Linked DNA regions of Homo sapiens: regions 2, 3, 4 and 5 are each linked to region 1. The links are contacts of gene promoters, found by promoter capture Hi-C in human tissues and cell types (Jung and others, 2019). All regions are on one chromosome and are shown on one strand. The core of a region is centred on a gene start or on the middle of the fragment in contact, and the rest is flanking DNA. Distances in the headings are between cores, read along the strand shown.

Evidence for each region. Contacts are between HindIII fragments. The study calls those that stand out against the background at their distance.
Region 2: a contact is called between a fragment that was not itself captured here and the fragment with the promoter of PTPRT in region 1, in 1 of the 25 tissues and cell types used here (dorsolateral prefrontal cortex).
Region 3: a fragment that was not itself captured here is called in contact with the fragment with the promoter of PTPRT in region 1 in 1 of the 25 tissues and cell types used here (dorsolateral prefrontal cortex).
Region 4: a contact is called between a fragment that was not itself captured here and the fragment with the promoter of PTPRT in region 1, in 2 of the 25 tissues and cell types used here (dorsolateral prefrontal cortex and heart left ventricle).
Region 5: a fragment that was not itself captured here is called in contact with the fragment with the promoter of PTPRT in region 1 in 1 of the 25 tissues and cell types used here (H1 embryonic stem cells).

The regions. Positions count from the first base shown.
Region 1 is chr20:43,188,470-43,191,391 of GRCh38, forward strand. PTPRT (protein tyrosine phosphatase receptor type T) reads right to left here and starts at 1,437. Exons shown (of 31, transcript NM_007050.6): 1 at 1,177-1,437. The coding sequence starts at 1,264. PTPRT-DT (PTPRT divergent transcript) reads left to right here and starts at 1,596. Exons shown (of 3, transcript NR_186414.1): 1 at 1,596-1,781. The HindIII fragment of the contact is 13,787 bases long and covers 1-2,922 here.
Region 2 is chr20:42,314,639-42,317,560 of GRCh38, forward strand. PTPRT (protein tyrosine phosphatase receptor type T) reads right to left here. Exons shown (of 31, transcript NM_007050.6): 12 at 1,085-1,358. Among named protein-coding and RNA genes, the nearest start is that of PTPRT-AS1, 650 kb to the right of the region's middle. The HindIII fragment of the contact is 7,545 bases long and covers 1-2,922 here.
Region 3 is chr20:42,333,598-42,336,519 of GRCh38, forward strand. All of the region lies in intron 11 of PTPRT (protein tyrosine phosphatase receptor type T), which reads right to left. Among named protein-coding and RNA genes, the nearest start is that of PTPRT-AS1, 630 kb to the right of the region's middle. The HindIII fragment of the contact is 3,717 bases long and covers 1-2,922 here.
Region 4 is chr20:42,377,530-42,380,451 of GRCh38, forward strand. The region is part of intron 9 of PTPRT (protein tyrosine phosphatase receptor type T); the gene reads right to left. Among named protein-coding and RNA genes, the nearest start is that of PTPRT-AS1, 590 kb to the right of the region's middle. The HindIII fragment of the contact is 3,599 bases long and covers 1-2,922 here.
Region 5 is chr20:42,661,147-42,664,068 of GRCh38, forward strand. All of the region lies in intron 7 of PTPRT (protein tyrosine phosphatase receptor type T), which reads right to left. Among named protein-coding and RNA genes, the nearest start is that of PTPRT-AS1, 310 kb to the right of the region's middle. The HindIII fragment of the contact is 4,745 bases long and covers 1-2,922 here.

The DNA.
Region 1 (2,922 bases), core at 187-2,686:
GCAAAGACGCTGTACCTCCCCACAGGTTCGTTCTTTTGCTCTTTCTTTCTTCCTTTCCTTCTTTCGGTGAAATAATAAATGGGCACAGCTGTTGCTTAGCGATCCGAAACCAGCCTGTTCCTGCGTCCCACGGGCTGATCTCAGCCTGTCCCCGCAATCCCAGCCACCTCAGGCCGGCGTGGTTACACCAAAAGCAATCGGTGCTAAGAAACTTTAAGGTGATTTTGAACTTGGAAGTACACCTGCAGCACTCCCTTCTCTTCCCTCCGCCGCTACTCTTGGGGGGGGGGGGGCTCGGGGGTGGAAGCTGCCTGCGGTGGGGCTTGGTGATGTGTAAGACCCTGGACTGTGGTGCCCTCCAGCACCCGCCAACGTGCCTTTAGGAGCACGGCAGGCACCACCCCCCCGCCCCCGCTCCCCCTACTCTGGGGAACTACCTCTGCTCACCGCCTTCCCGTGGCCAAACCCAAATATGAGTTCCCCGAACTTTTCAGGAGCGGACGCGCTCACGGGTCAAATCCACTCCCCTCCAAGGGCCTTAACACGGGCGCCCAGCTACCTCGGAGAAAAGCCAGCGGGTAGGGCGGAGGTATTGCTCTCGGTCATCAACGCAAACATCCCCTCGGGTGCCTACAGCGGCCTGCTTAGGGGAGCAGCGTGTTCAGAGCAAATGGAGAGCTTCCTGTATCTCCGAGGAAAAAAGAAAAGCCGCCGCCCCGGCAGCCTCGGCCTGCTGGGGACCTGTCCTCCCCACTAAAAGCGCGCGCTGCCCGAGGAGCTGCCCGGGAGAGAACGCTCCACCCCGGGCGTCGGTGCCGCTCCTCGTCTCGCCGCCCCAAACACTCAAGTGGCAGATTCCGACAAGTGGGAGGCAGCAAGTGGAAATATTCGCAACAACCGCGGAAAGTTACTCCAGCCCGGGGGGCCGGCAGGAAACTGAAGCGGGGAACTTCGCCAAACGCGGGCTGCCGAGGGACGCGAGGGGCCGGGCTCGCTGGCCGGGGCGCGCGGGGACACTGCTTCCCGCGCCTGCAAGCTGAGACCCGGGTTCCGGCCATGGGGACCCGCGCCCCCGCGAGCCCACACAACTTTCTCCTCCGAGGGCCCCGCGGCTGGGGGCCCGCGCGCATCCAGGAGGGAGCGGGGAGCCCAGGGGAGCCGGGCGGGCGCACTCACCTGCGGCGCTCTGAGCCCGGGCGCCGGGCAGTGGCGGCAGCTGCAGCCTCAGGAGCAGGCTGAGGGCGAGCGCGGCGAGGCTCGCCATCCGGGCGGCGGCGGGCAGCTCAGCCCCTTCCCGCGGGGGCCGGGGCCGGGACTGGGGCGGGCGCGGGGTGGCCCCGCATCGCCGGCGCGGCCGCTGGCTGTGCGCGCGGCTGGCTCCGCTCGGGCTCCCGGAGCCGGCGCTCCTGCGTTCCAAGCCGAGGCGCGGCGCGAACTGAGGCGGGAGGCTGGGCGGGGGCGGGACGCGGGGGGCGGGGGGCGGTGTCCCCCGAGTCCTAACGCCGCCGCCGTTGCCGCCGCCGCCGCCGCCGCCGCCCGCCCGGGCGCTCCGCCTCGGCCGTGCACACACCCTCACGCGCACGCCCGCGCCTGGCACACGCCCGCGGCTGGCACACGCGGGCTCCCCCGCGCACCCTCTCCGGGGCCGACCAGCTCGGGCCGCTGGCACAGTCACGCGCGTCCACACATCACCCCCGCACCCACACGCCGGGCAGGGTCCTCGCCTCTTCGCCCCGCGCCGCGCCGCGCAGCCAAGCATCGTCTGCCCTGTGGGGGCGCAGGTACGGGGGCGGTGCGGGGAGGAGGAAGCTGCAGCAGCCGTTTGAACTCGGGGTGGGGAACAGGTGAATGGGGGTTCGGTGGCGAGAAGAGGGAGGGAGGGAGCAGCCCTCGCAACTCAAGATAAGGGGCCAGGTGAATTGCGAAAGCGGGTGGGGGCGTCTGCCCAAAGCTGGGGCAGGCGGCTGCTGGCCAGGGTCTCGGGCACACCCTGAGATGAGAATTTCATCTAAGAGCGCGCGCGCGCACACACACACAACCCACTCACACTCTTCTGGGCGCATCGCTGACCGCGCCACAATCGTCGTCCCCCTCAATTAGCCGCCCACCCCACCTTCTTCTTCACCCACATCTCTCTCTTGTCCCCACCACCACGCGGAAGGGGGCGCAGAAGGGGCATGAGGCATCCCCCCACCCCCTACAATTTTTCCCTGGCAGCCTTCCCTTTCCTTTTCTAGGGAGACAGAACCTTGTAGCTTTTTCCCTTTTCTTCTCGGTCTTAACAAAGACCTGGTTGGGGCTGAAAGCCTAAAACCATAGATCAGGGTTGGAGCTGTCCCTGGCAGCCCACGGCCCACAGCCTGGCTCTCTGCTGTCCTGGGAGGCAGCTGGTACCTGAGTCTTGGCTGGGGGTCTGAGATGTAAAAGCCAGGGGCAGGGATACCCAGAAATGCTTAAGGGATTCACACTTTGTGAACACTTTGCTACCTGGCCAAAGCCCTCCTTCTTCTGTGTCAGCACAGCCCCCCACCCCCATCCTTGTTGGGGTACCAGGGACTGGACTGGGGAGACTGTAAGTGAATTGTGAAAATCAAGCATGGCAGGGTTTCCAAAAGTGGGGAGCCCCAGGCTCTGGACCCAAGTTGGCATGGCAGAGAACACAGGGCGTCACTCTGTCAGTCCCCAGTTCCCAGTCCCCACTAGGTAAAGTGGCCCAGTTCCCTGGCATGGAAGCCCAATTTACAATCCCAGGCAAATTCTTCCACCCCTCTCCGGACCCCGACTCCCACCACCACCACCATGACCGTGACCACTTTCAAAAGCTGACGTGCTTGGACTAGCCTGTTGGACCAGCCAGTGCCTCCCACACTTGCCTGGTCAAAGAACTACCAGGAAGATTTCTCCAAGTCCTGCTTCCCAGAC
Region 2 (2,922 bases), core at 186-2,685, 870 kb before region 1:
TTGCAGAAAAGACAATCTTATGGGCACATTTATATAGAGAAGAAAAGGGTGTTAGAAAAGATCTTATGTAACTGAAAGACTATAAACCAAGAAGGTGGTTGCATTGGTTTTGTAGGATGCTAAGAGTGTGAATCAAGAACAATGGATAGAAACTTCAATAGGAAATATTTCAGTAAGTACATTAAAAAGCCTCCTTAGAGACACAGCCCACTCCCTACTCCAGAAAACAGTAAAGCTACCTCAGAGATAAATGAGTTCTCTGTCATTGGAGGTATTCAAGAATAAGCACTAATGCCAGTTAATTGGTGTTGTAGTATGGATAGAACCATTGTTTTGTGTGTGTTTGAGATTGTTGAATGACCTTTGATATGCTTTCCAGCCCTGTGATTTTCTAATATTATGACTGGTGCCAATCCTTGACCAAAGAAATATTTGACACAAAAATGGTTACCTTGCGTGAACCCGGGAAGCGGAGCTTGCAGTGAGCCGAGATTGCGCCACTGCAGTCCGCAGTCCGGCCTGGGCGACAGAGCGAGGCTCCGTCTCAAAAAAAAAAAAAAAAAAAAAAAAAAAAATGGTTACCTTGTTTTTGTTTTTGGAGAAACACTATTTTCTAATGTGACCAATGGCAATGAAAAAGGGCGTATTAATCACTAATCAACTAAACCATGATTAGTGCATTCCTAGATAGCAAATTGATAGATATTATTATTATATATGAAGAACTTAAGGATCAGAGAGGTCATGTAATTTCCTCAAGTAAAGCACCATCTCTTTACTTTAATACAGGAGTGTGCAAAGGTTTTATGTAAAAAGCCATATAATAAATATCTTAGGCTTTGTGGAGCATATAGTCTCTGTTACAACTGTTCAACTTTACTGTTAAGCATCAAAACAGCCATAGACAGTATGTAAATGAACAGGCATAGCTGTACTATTATTTTTTTAATTTAAAGGCATGAGGTAGGATTTGCCCCACGGGCCTTAGTTTTTCATCCTCTGCTCTAGAGCCCTGCTGACTTATCATTTGAGAATGAAAAAATGCAAACAAGGCAAGGAATGGCCTCCATGTGGCCATACTTACTCCATTGGCTTTGCTGAGTGCCTGGAAGTAGATGCTGTAGCTTTTCAGGGGAGAGAGAGGAGGGTTCCAGTAGCCATTGTATGTCTTATTGTCACCCACTGTAAATGGCTGGGTGACAGGCAGGTTGGCAGGCTTCAACTCAGCAGCAAAGTAGTGTAGAGAATCGAGGCTGGAGGCATTCCGATAGCTCACGGGCACCGAAAAGCACTCAATAATGTCAGCTGCCCTCCGTGACTTCTGAAGTCGCTCCTCCTTGACAACCAGCTGATAAACACTGGACAGGAAAGAGGAGACACAGATGGTTGAGCAACTTTCTGGAAGAATGAGCTTGTTAGCTCTAATGGTGTCAACCCAACTTCTCCTATGTGGAAGCATTGGTTCGGTCTACAACAAAACTCCAGTCCTGAGCATCAGATTTTCAAACCTACCACGTTGTAGAACTTTACCTCCACTTAGCTGTCTCAGAGCCAGCTCACACTAGACACATCTAAAACTCAACTTAGCCCCAACCCCTACAAACCTGTCTGCTCCTCCTTCTACATTTCCTTTCTTAGTAAATGGTAGCAGCATCTGACAAGTGGCCAGAATCTGAATCTAGGGCTCATCCTCAGTTCTTAACTCCTTCGTTCTCACTCCTCATCCTAATCAACAGCCTTACAGAAGTCTGTTGATTTGGCTTCTGCAGGTTTGCATCTGCCCCACCTCTCTTTTCTCCTTCCACTGATAATGCCTTGGTTGGACACTTTCCCACTTACCCAGATTCAACTAGTCTCTTTGCCTCTAAGGCACTTGATTTATTAATCACTCATCCTAATCATATGGCTTCCTAATCATATAGCTCTTCAAACACTTTCATAGGCCTTCCATTGTCCAAATTATACAATCTGAACTCCTAATCTTGGCATTTGAAGTCCTCTGTGCCTGCCTTCTGTCTTCCATTTAGAAGGTCTTCTCATGGTGTTCCCATCTTCCAGCTACTCCAGACCCCATGCTATTGCACAGACATCTTTTGGATCTCACCTCATGCATTACTGACTTATGCTTCCTCTACCTGCAATGCCCTGCATCCTGGCCACCTCTGGTTTCCTCCAAAGGCTGAGCATGTCTTTCACTTCCTCTATGAAGCCTGTCCAGATATGTCCAGTCTGGATGAATTACCTCCCTCTTTAGTTCCCCTAGAGCTCATCTAATCTCCATCTGCTTTGTTTTCCAATATCATGAGATGGGACTACTCTTTCACTGGCTAGATTGTGACCTTTTACAAAGTAGGCATTGTTGCTTACTTATCTCTGCCTCATTCTCCACCCCCACCCCATACTGCCCAGCAGGATGCCTGTCACCCAACAAGTGATCAATGAATGCTTGTTCAAATGAATTAAATTGGATTGAATTAAAATTGAAAGCAAACATGAAACCAAATCTGCCTGGATGCAGAAACCCTAATCGGATAAACAGCGATTGCCTTGAGTTCCTGTCTAGTGATCTCATATTGTTCCCTTCAAGTTAGAAGGATGTAAGAAGATGCTAGTGTGTGAATAGAGATGACTGATCCTTTATTGAATATCAACTGATACCCAATGTTAGACTCTCTTTGTAAAAGTTCTTTTAAGGTTTGTAAGTTGGAGAACATTTTTCAATCTCTTTGAATGCCCCACAGTTTATAGTTCTCTGGAATAAATGCTCTTCTTTTAGAAGAGCTTTATTGCACAGATCTCTGGGACTCATGATCTAAAACAGAAGATCGATTGCCCAAAGAGTACCCACTGGAGACTTCTGTGAATTAATGAGGTGGTTGCAGTAGGGGACCCCAAACCAATCATTTAAACAGGGCATAGTGA
Region 3 (2,922 bases), core at 263-2,762, 850 kb before region 1:
CTGGGATTAGAGGCGTGAACCACTGCGCCCAGCCAGGCTTAGTATTGTTTTTAAATGAATTTAAATATTTGTTAACATGTGGCTTTAATTCCTTTTCTTGAGATGGAGTCTCGCTTTGTCACCCAGGCTACAGTGCAGGGGTGCAATCTCGGCTCAGAGCAATCTCTGCCTCCTGCGTTCAAGCTAGATTCTTCTGCCTCAGCCTGCTGAGTAGCTGGAACTACAGGCATGCACCACCACACCTGGCTAATGTTTGTATTTTTAGTACAGATGGGTTTTCACCATGTTGGCCAGGCTGGTCTTGATCTCCTGACCTCAAGTGACCCGCCCACCTTGGCTTCACAAAGTGCTGGGATTACAGGCATAAGCCACCATGCCCGGCTTGAATTTGGCTTTAATTTCTAATACAGTAAACATTGATAGACAAAACCCACATAAACAAAAGTTCTTTGATGCCTTCATTAATTTTTAAGAGTGTAAAGGGGTCTTCAAATTTAAAAGATCAAGAACCTGTGAATCATACATTTTTTTAAAAAAAAGTCTATTAAGACCCCCATGGTTCAGAGTTTCTCAATCTTGGCACTACTGACATTTTGGGCTGGATAAGTCTTCGTTGTAGGGGGCTGGCTGTGCTGTGCATTGTGGGATGTTCAGCAGGATCCCTGACCCCCACTCACTAACTAGATGCCAGTATCACCTCCGACTTGTAATAAACAAAAATATGTCCTGACATTGCCAGATATCTCTTAAGGGACAAATTAACGCTGGTTGAGAACCACTGCCATAGGTAATTAGGAAAAGGATGTAAAAAGAAAATTCACAAAAAAGAAATGTTAATAGCATAAAAATACCTAGAAAAATATTCTGCCTTGCCAGTAAGCCAAGACATGCAAATCAAAATGACAATATGTTCCCATTTAAATGCATTAAATTAGTAAAAGTAAGCATAAATTATAACAAGCCATTTCAGTGAAGCTGTGGTTGAACTGGTAGGATTCTACAATTCCAGTAGCATTTTTAATTGATTCATCAAATTGGGGAAAATAATCTGGCAATGGTTTTCAAGACATAAATGTTTTTATGACCTGGAAGTAAAAAGAGCATAGGCTCAGGAATCAGCATTAAACTTGAATTTTAGCTCTGAATCTCACTGGTTATGTGATCTTCCTTAATTTATTTAAATGATAGCATTTATAAGAACTGAATACGATAATAATGCCTCCATCATTTGTTATTTGAGAACTGCAATAGACAATAATGTAAGTGAACTTCTAGTTAAAAGCGGAAGAATTAATGTACTCCATTTACCTCTTCTATCTCCTCACTGTTATTGCAGTGAAATGTGAAAAAGCATAGAAATCCACAAGGAAAAAGAGGACAGGAGAGGGGACATCAGTGGATGAGCAGTTTTAAGAAAATTCTGGAAACCTAAAAATGGTCAGAGGAGAGGTACCACATGTGATGAGATAAAGAAAGTCAAATTGCAAAGACATGTGAGTAAGAATGGATTTTATTTGCCCCACAGATTTCAAGAGAGATTCTGATGTTGGAGTAGTCAAGTGTGGACAGTGTGGAAGTAAAATGTGGGGCTGAAAAGGGGTGTTTATCAAAAGTCTGTACACAAAACCATCAAACCTTTGAACATGGAGAGCTATGTGTCTGCCCTCTACCCCTTAGGCAGGAGATAGGAAGAGGATTTCATTTCAGAATTTGAATGCCTCCGCCTCCAAAAGCACAGCACCTCCAGTCAACTTTCTCAACACCTTACTTTTAAATATTGGCTATGGAGGTTCACTGGTTAGGTAAGCAATGCTTCCAACATGAAAGAGAGCAGTGAATTAAAAAAAATGACTCTAGAAGAAACAGAGATAATACAGGAGTCAGAAAAGCTTCCCCCTTCTCCAAAATCAAAATCATATCCTGAGATGTTTGAGAAATGATTACTTCTATAAATAAGAAGTGAATGTTATAAGAAAAAAAATTCAAAGAACAGTAAGTAGCTCAAAATGAAAAATTATGACTGCCAAAATTATAAACAAATTTGAGAATTTTTTTGAGGGAGTTGTTCTGTTTTGTTTTAGGAAATAGAAGAAATTGGCAGAAAAGAAAAGGGGAAAAAGAGTATTTAAAGGCAAACCTAAAATGATGGAGTTCTGTGGGAGGAAAAATGTATGAATAGTTTAATAAATAAACTGCCTGAAGAAATGAGAATAATTGTACATTCTATAACGAATTAAACAAAAAAGCCCACAAGAAGAGTAATTAGAAGTAGTATAACATAGTAGTACACTCCAGACTGTGGGGCTAGACCATTATGTTCAAATTTCATATCGGCTGCTACTAGCTGCATGATCTTGAGCAAGTTAGTTAACCTTTCAGTACTTCAGTTTCCCCATCTGTAAAATAGGGATAACACTAGTTTCTACCTGGTAGGGTTTTGACGATAATCAACTGAGTTAATATACATAAAGAACTTAAAATCTTAGCAAGCTTTAAATTAATTATGTAATAATATAATACTTACATATTATATTATACTGTAAAAGAAGTAATATACCATTTGGCTCTGAAGTGACCTGTTTTTATGGAATTGTAAAGTTGGCCATTGTGTAGTTATTTAACAAAAAACTGTGGCTTAACTACATTGGAAAGAAGGAAGGGAGGTATTGGATGATTTAAGACAGACAAGTTACCATCTATCATAGCAGGAAATAAATAGATAATGTCTGCAATCGATAACTTTAAAATAGCACATTATGTAGTGACATTGCCAATTCCCAGAAGAAAGAGCAAAGAATTAAAATGCATTTGCCTCTGAGGCACAGGACTGGGGGAGGGGGGGTTGTAAATGGTGGTGTTGGGAATGGTTGGGCTATTTGATTTTCCAACTATGTGTATTTGTTACTTTGAGATTTTTTAATT
Region 4 (2,922 bases), core at 194-2,693, 810 kb before region 1:
AGGAGATTCTGATGCTGTTGTTAATTGGTGGATCCTACATGGTGTAACGAGGTTCTAAACACCAATAGACTTTCAGCTGCAAGCTCTTTGTCTCAATTTCAAAGTACCACTGACCTCAACCTAAAACCTCAACCTAACAAACGACCTCAACCTAAAATCCTGTGCTTCCGGTTGTGAGCCTTGTGACTGTGGAGGAGACATTTCCTAGCGCTGAGCCTCAGTTCGCCACCTCTGTAAATTGCCTGTGGAAGACATGGCTTTGGAGGACAGAAAAGAAAAGTGAAGGAAGAGAAAGATGAAGCCAGAGTGAAGTGGTAGCATTAGTGCTGTGATTCACAAAAATAACACTATAGGAAGAACCTGGATGATAGTATTCTGAATACAGCAGGAGCACCAATAGAGTAGCAGTAGTAAAAATAGCATCATTATAACTAATAGTGCAGAAATAGTACTAGGGGTCCTACCCAGAGGAGGACTGATTATTTCAGAGGCAGAGGTTGGGGCAGAATAGAAGGCTTAACAGATGTGGTACATCTCACTGGTTGAGAATTCAGATTCTGGAGCCAAACCGACATTTGATGAAATGAAGTGTGTATTGAAAACAGCACAGCAACCCCCACAGAGTAGGGGAAAGAATGTAAGATCCCCAAGGAGAGGGACCGTGATGGTCTTGCTCAGCATTGCATTCCTGGTGCCTAGGACAGCGGGAGGCACCAGATAAACATCTCTTAAATATATTAGGAGTCTTTGATTCTTTTTCTGTTCTCAGATACCTACTGACTGTATGATTCTGAGATCACACCTCTCTTCTTGGCTTCAATTCTTTCATCTCGAAAAGTCAGGATTTGGGCTGTGTGGCACCAAAGATGCTTTCCAGTTCCTGTGTTTTCTCTCCTGATGCCCTATTTTACTCTTCCTTTGCAACCTGATAGTATCTTTTTTGGTTAATTGTTCACTCATTTTCTGTCTCCCCACTAGACCGAGTTCTCCAATGTGGGAATCTAAGTTGCCATCTTGCACAACCCTGTAATCCCAAAACTTGGCACAAAACCTGAGGCATATCTCAGTGAGTATCTGTCGAATGAACAAAGGAATGAACAAGCTCTATTTTCTTAAGATCACTGGAGGCAGCATTGTGCCACGGTTAAGATACGGGCTCTAGGTTCAGACTGCCTATATTTGAATATTGATTCCTCCAGTTACCAGTTTTATGACCTGCAAATTATTTAACTTCCTGAGGCTCAGTTTCCTCATCTGTAGAGCGCAGATACTAATGGTATCCCCTTCACAGGATTTTGAAATGATTAAATAATTCATGCAAAGCTGTTAAAATAGTTCTGACATGTAGTAAGCATTCAATACTTATCAGCCTCATTTAGAGAAAAAAGAAATTCCTTGTGAATTCCATGTGTAATTTGACAGGTGTGACACTGACTCAACTTGCTCCAGCAAGTCTCCAAGGCAACCATTCCCCACTTGGTGCTTCTACCGTGCCCCCACAGCTCCATTTTTGCACTTGGAATGCTGCATTTCGTTTTGAACATGTAAGCCTTTGCTTCTGCCTTCAGGTGCTCAACTCTGGCGTGCCCAGCCTCCCCAGTCTTATGCCTACCACTCCCTCCCTCAGTCTTGCTCCACAAAGTGCCTCTGTGCCTTGGCATATGCTGTCACCTCTGTCTGTGATGAACTTCCAATTTTCTACAACTGGCCAACACCTGGTCATTACTCAAGTCCCGGGTCAAGCCCCTTTATTGCAGGAAGATTTCCCTGAATCTCTAGGCTGGTGAAATGCATGACAAAGTTCTATTCATTTCCCTGCAGCAATAGAGAAATCCCAACTGTTTAATCATAACAGAAGAGGAAAACAAAGAAAAATGAGTGGGAGTGCCTTGGTATAACTATGACACCCTAATCATCATCTCATGGGGAGACCCTAGAACAACCAGACTCAAATTTGAGGCATCCAGTGCATGCTTCCCAGAGCCTCTCACTCTTACTTTTCCTAGAGGCACCTGAGCCTGTGGAGGGCAGCAGGAGCTCGGTCTCCAGCTCCACCCCTTCTCCACATTCCTACAAAGGAGTTATATGCCAGGTACCTCCTTTCTCGGCCTTGGCCCTGGCCGGGTGATTGGGAAAATGAAACAGACTGGCCGAGGCTTGATGCCCCTAAATTGTAATTTCAAGGTAATTTGAACTTCCTTCTTCTTGGGCATGAATGGAAAAGCTAAAGTCTCCTTGAATCAGTGTGCAGAACTCAACAAAGAATTAAAGTGCCCCCATGCTTTCCTCCAAAGCTTGTGTGAGATCAGCAGGATAATCAATTTTACAATTCTGTGAAGCTGATTGGAAAGTGATTACAAAGGCAGTCAGAGCATTTTCTCATGGGCTTTCAAAAGGCCTGTTGCAGAGGGACGTGAAGGATATGAAGTCTGGCCATCCATAGCAAGCCCACAAAAATCAAGGACTCCTTCACTCCCAAAGCTTTAATCTCTGGCTCCCATGAGTTCGATAGTCAATCCTGCCCAAGGCCTATAGAGTAAACGTGTGAGGCTGGTAGTCCACTAAGAACCTAAGCCCTATTTCAGTAGATAGCTTTGGGGTCAGAATGCTACTGCAGGCTGATTTTTAAAAACCTTGAACTTCAGTGTTGCCCTCTGCTGCATCCTGCCTCAGTTTCCTTATCCCACTCTCTCTAGCTCCCTGTGGAGACTGGATCCCTGATCTAAATCACGCTGCCACCTTCTCCATGTGCTGGAGCACTGTCTCCTAAAATGGCCAGCTTTCTGGCACCGAGATGCATTAGGCACTGACTGGTAGGCTATGCAGAGATCAGGTTTAGCCCACACTCACTGTCCTGCCTCAGATGTGGAACAACCTGGGCCTTCCCTCCATGCACTCCTCACTTCCCTTAGCCCCAGGCCT
Region 5 (2,922 bases), core at 280-2,779, 530 kb before region 1:
CCGTAAACAGTGTTTTAAATGGTTAAAATGGAGAGTGAGGAGGAGGAAGCTAGACCAACAAGGTCCTTTGCGAAGTGACTTTTAAAGGGACATGTAAAGGGCAATGATGAGTTAACTAGTTCACACAAAACTTTTCTGTAAAATATTTATTTTATGCTGTAGAGTGACCAATGAGACTAAAGGGCATATGGAGCATGATTACATGAGAATGAGGTCAGTGACTAAAAGGGAATAGACACAAGCAAAAAATATATATTTAATTGGAATATGAAATACATTTCCTATTTTCAAAAGGTTACTTTCAAATTTCAAAAATGTGCTACCTCTTTTTTTCAAGTATAAAGATGAAGAAGATAAAGAAGTAAAATGGCAGCCACCACCAGAGTAGTTATAGTGGCTGCATCCATTTTCCGCCCTAAGCCCAGGTGGGAAAAGGGTTGGCTGGAAAAGTTACAAGCTTCTAATGATTAAGAAGCCCCATCAAGGAAAATCTACATGGCCGTGGTGGATGGACAACCACTCTCTGGTGGATTCCCATTGACCTTCGAGACCCCCTAACTCCCACTCTCACCTCCTGCTACACCTCATCTCAAGAATCTCAGGATGACTTGTGGCTCAAGCCAATAGTGGGTGGGATTTAGAAACAACTGACACTCTGGTTTTCCTCTTTTCTGTCAGGCAGAGTCTTTTTCTCTGCACCAAGCCAGGTTTGGGCTCACTGCTCAGGATAACTCTCCCATTCTTCTCACTGCAGGGAGACCTCTGCGTTCCAGAATGGCCAGCAATGGACAGGGTGCCCTTGGCTTCCTCTGGCTCAGGCATCATTTTGGCTGAGGCTGCATACCAAGCTCTTGATAGAGTGAGCTTTGTGAACACAGCAAAGGGCTAGCCCCTCAGACTCATGGCAATGAGGATTTTTGGGGTTTAATGGTGAGGAAGGCCTAGGGCCTAGGTAATGAGAGAGAAACTGAAAAAAGATAGCATACTGTCCTCTTAATATGTTGTACCAGTTAACTCACCTGCAGAAATGCCTGTTAAGAGCCTACTTCGTTCCTTGCCAAAACTGGTTACTACCAGTTTGAAACATATAAGTAGGTAATATATTGATAATGAGAGAGAAAGTGAGCCCCTAGGTGTTAAAGTACCAAAGGCTCCAATTTACTAAGCACCTACTAAGTTCTAAGCATTGTACTTAGAGTTCTATGGTCAGCTGGGTCCAGAGCAGGACTCTAATCGGACTCAGTAGGCCCCAACCTCAGCTACTTCCTAAACTGTGTGACTTGGAGCAAAACACTAAATCTCTCTGGCCTTGGTAGTAATGGTCATGATAAAACCTACCTCATGGGGTTATAGGTTTGCAGGCAAAGTCAGTGGGGTAAGCCTTGCAGAGCATTATTAGCCATCATTAATATTAATGACCTGTATTTCTATCCAGTGAGGTAAGCAGCATTATACTAATTAACAGAGGGGGAAACTGATTCACAGAGGTCAAGCAATTGCCCAAGGCTGTCCAGCATCCTAAGGAGTGAATCTAGCATTAAAACTCTGATGGGACTGAAAGCAAACCCCCTATTTAACTGTCCCTTACTCTATTTGAACACTGAGCTTGAAGCTTGGTTTGCATCTCAGGGCTTAGCAAATTTGGGACTGTTTCTGTACTGTCCAAAAATGTCAATGATTCACTAACTAATAAAAATACCCTCATATAGAGTGTTTTACAATTTATAACAATCATTCACATTCACATTTGACTCCAATGGGTACAACAATTTCTAAATTATATAAATTTTTGTGACCCACAGTCTCAATACCTGAATATATGTGTGTGTGTGTGTGTGTGTATGTGTGTGTGTATTTATATATATACATGAATATATATACATAATATACAGACATATATATGGCATGTCTGTCTCTGTACCTATACCCAAGGGCAGATAGGTTAAAATACATATTTTAAGAAGGGTTGTTTCCATTCAAAGAAACACTTTGATCTCAGAATGAGCCGCCCTCCCCCAACCCCACTTAATGTTCAGTTCAGTGCAAAAGATGTACAAAGAGGGGCCTGGAAATAGAGTCTAGAGAAAGTTGAACTGCTCTAGGAACTTGAATGAGAAGACTTTGCTGCACCTGTGGGCAATTTGGGAGGGAGGAAACAGAAAGAGGTGAAAATTTCTTGCCTGTTGAAAGGACTTTTAAAGTCTGAGAAAGGATGAGTTCTATGCTGGGCAGGACGGCAATGCGACCCCTTGCCTGAGTCCCACCAAACACCAAGAGAAGTTTGCTGCTGCAGGAAACAGCCTTTGTTATGTGGCTTCGGCAGGGTGGTGTGGAAGGGCCCAGGTCCACATTTGGTTCAGTTAGGGGAGCCAGAAGAATTTGACTGATGTTCTAGAATCCAGGGCAGGCAGTGAACAGGGGCTCATGTGCTCTTTTTGAAATCTCCATGTGCAGAATTTGAAATGGGGAGTTCTGGTCAATACTTCATAGATTTCACTGGTAAACTGGCCCCAGCTGATATGCGGTCTGTGTATTTATATTTCACAAAACTGACACAGTAATTACTTACACTCGTGGTTTTGTAGGCTCTTTTTTTTAAAACTTCCTACAGCATGAACATTAACCCATGCCATTAGATACATATACCACAAAAACAGTTTGTAACAATACTAGCATAGAATTCCACTGTGTGTGTGCACCAAAATTTACTTAACTACTCTCCAATCGTTGGTGCATTTAAGTGATTTCCAAGTCTTTGTCCTTATAAATAATGCAGTGATGATCTCTGTCTGAAACTCTCTTTTGAGCAGCTCTGATTATTTTGCTAGAAAAAAAATTAGCAAATTGTCCTCTTAACATGCTGTACCAGTTAACTTACCTGCAGAAATGCCTGTAAGAACCTGCTTTGTTATTCCTTACCAA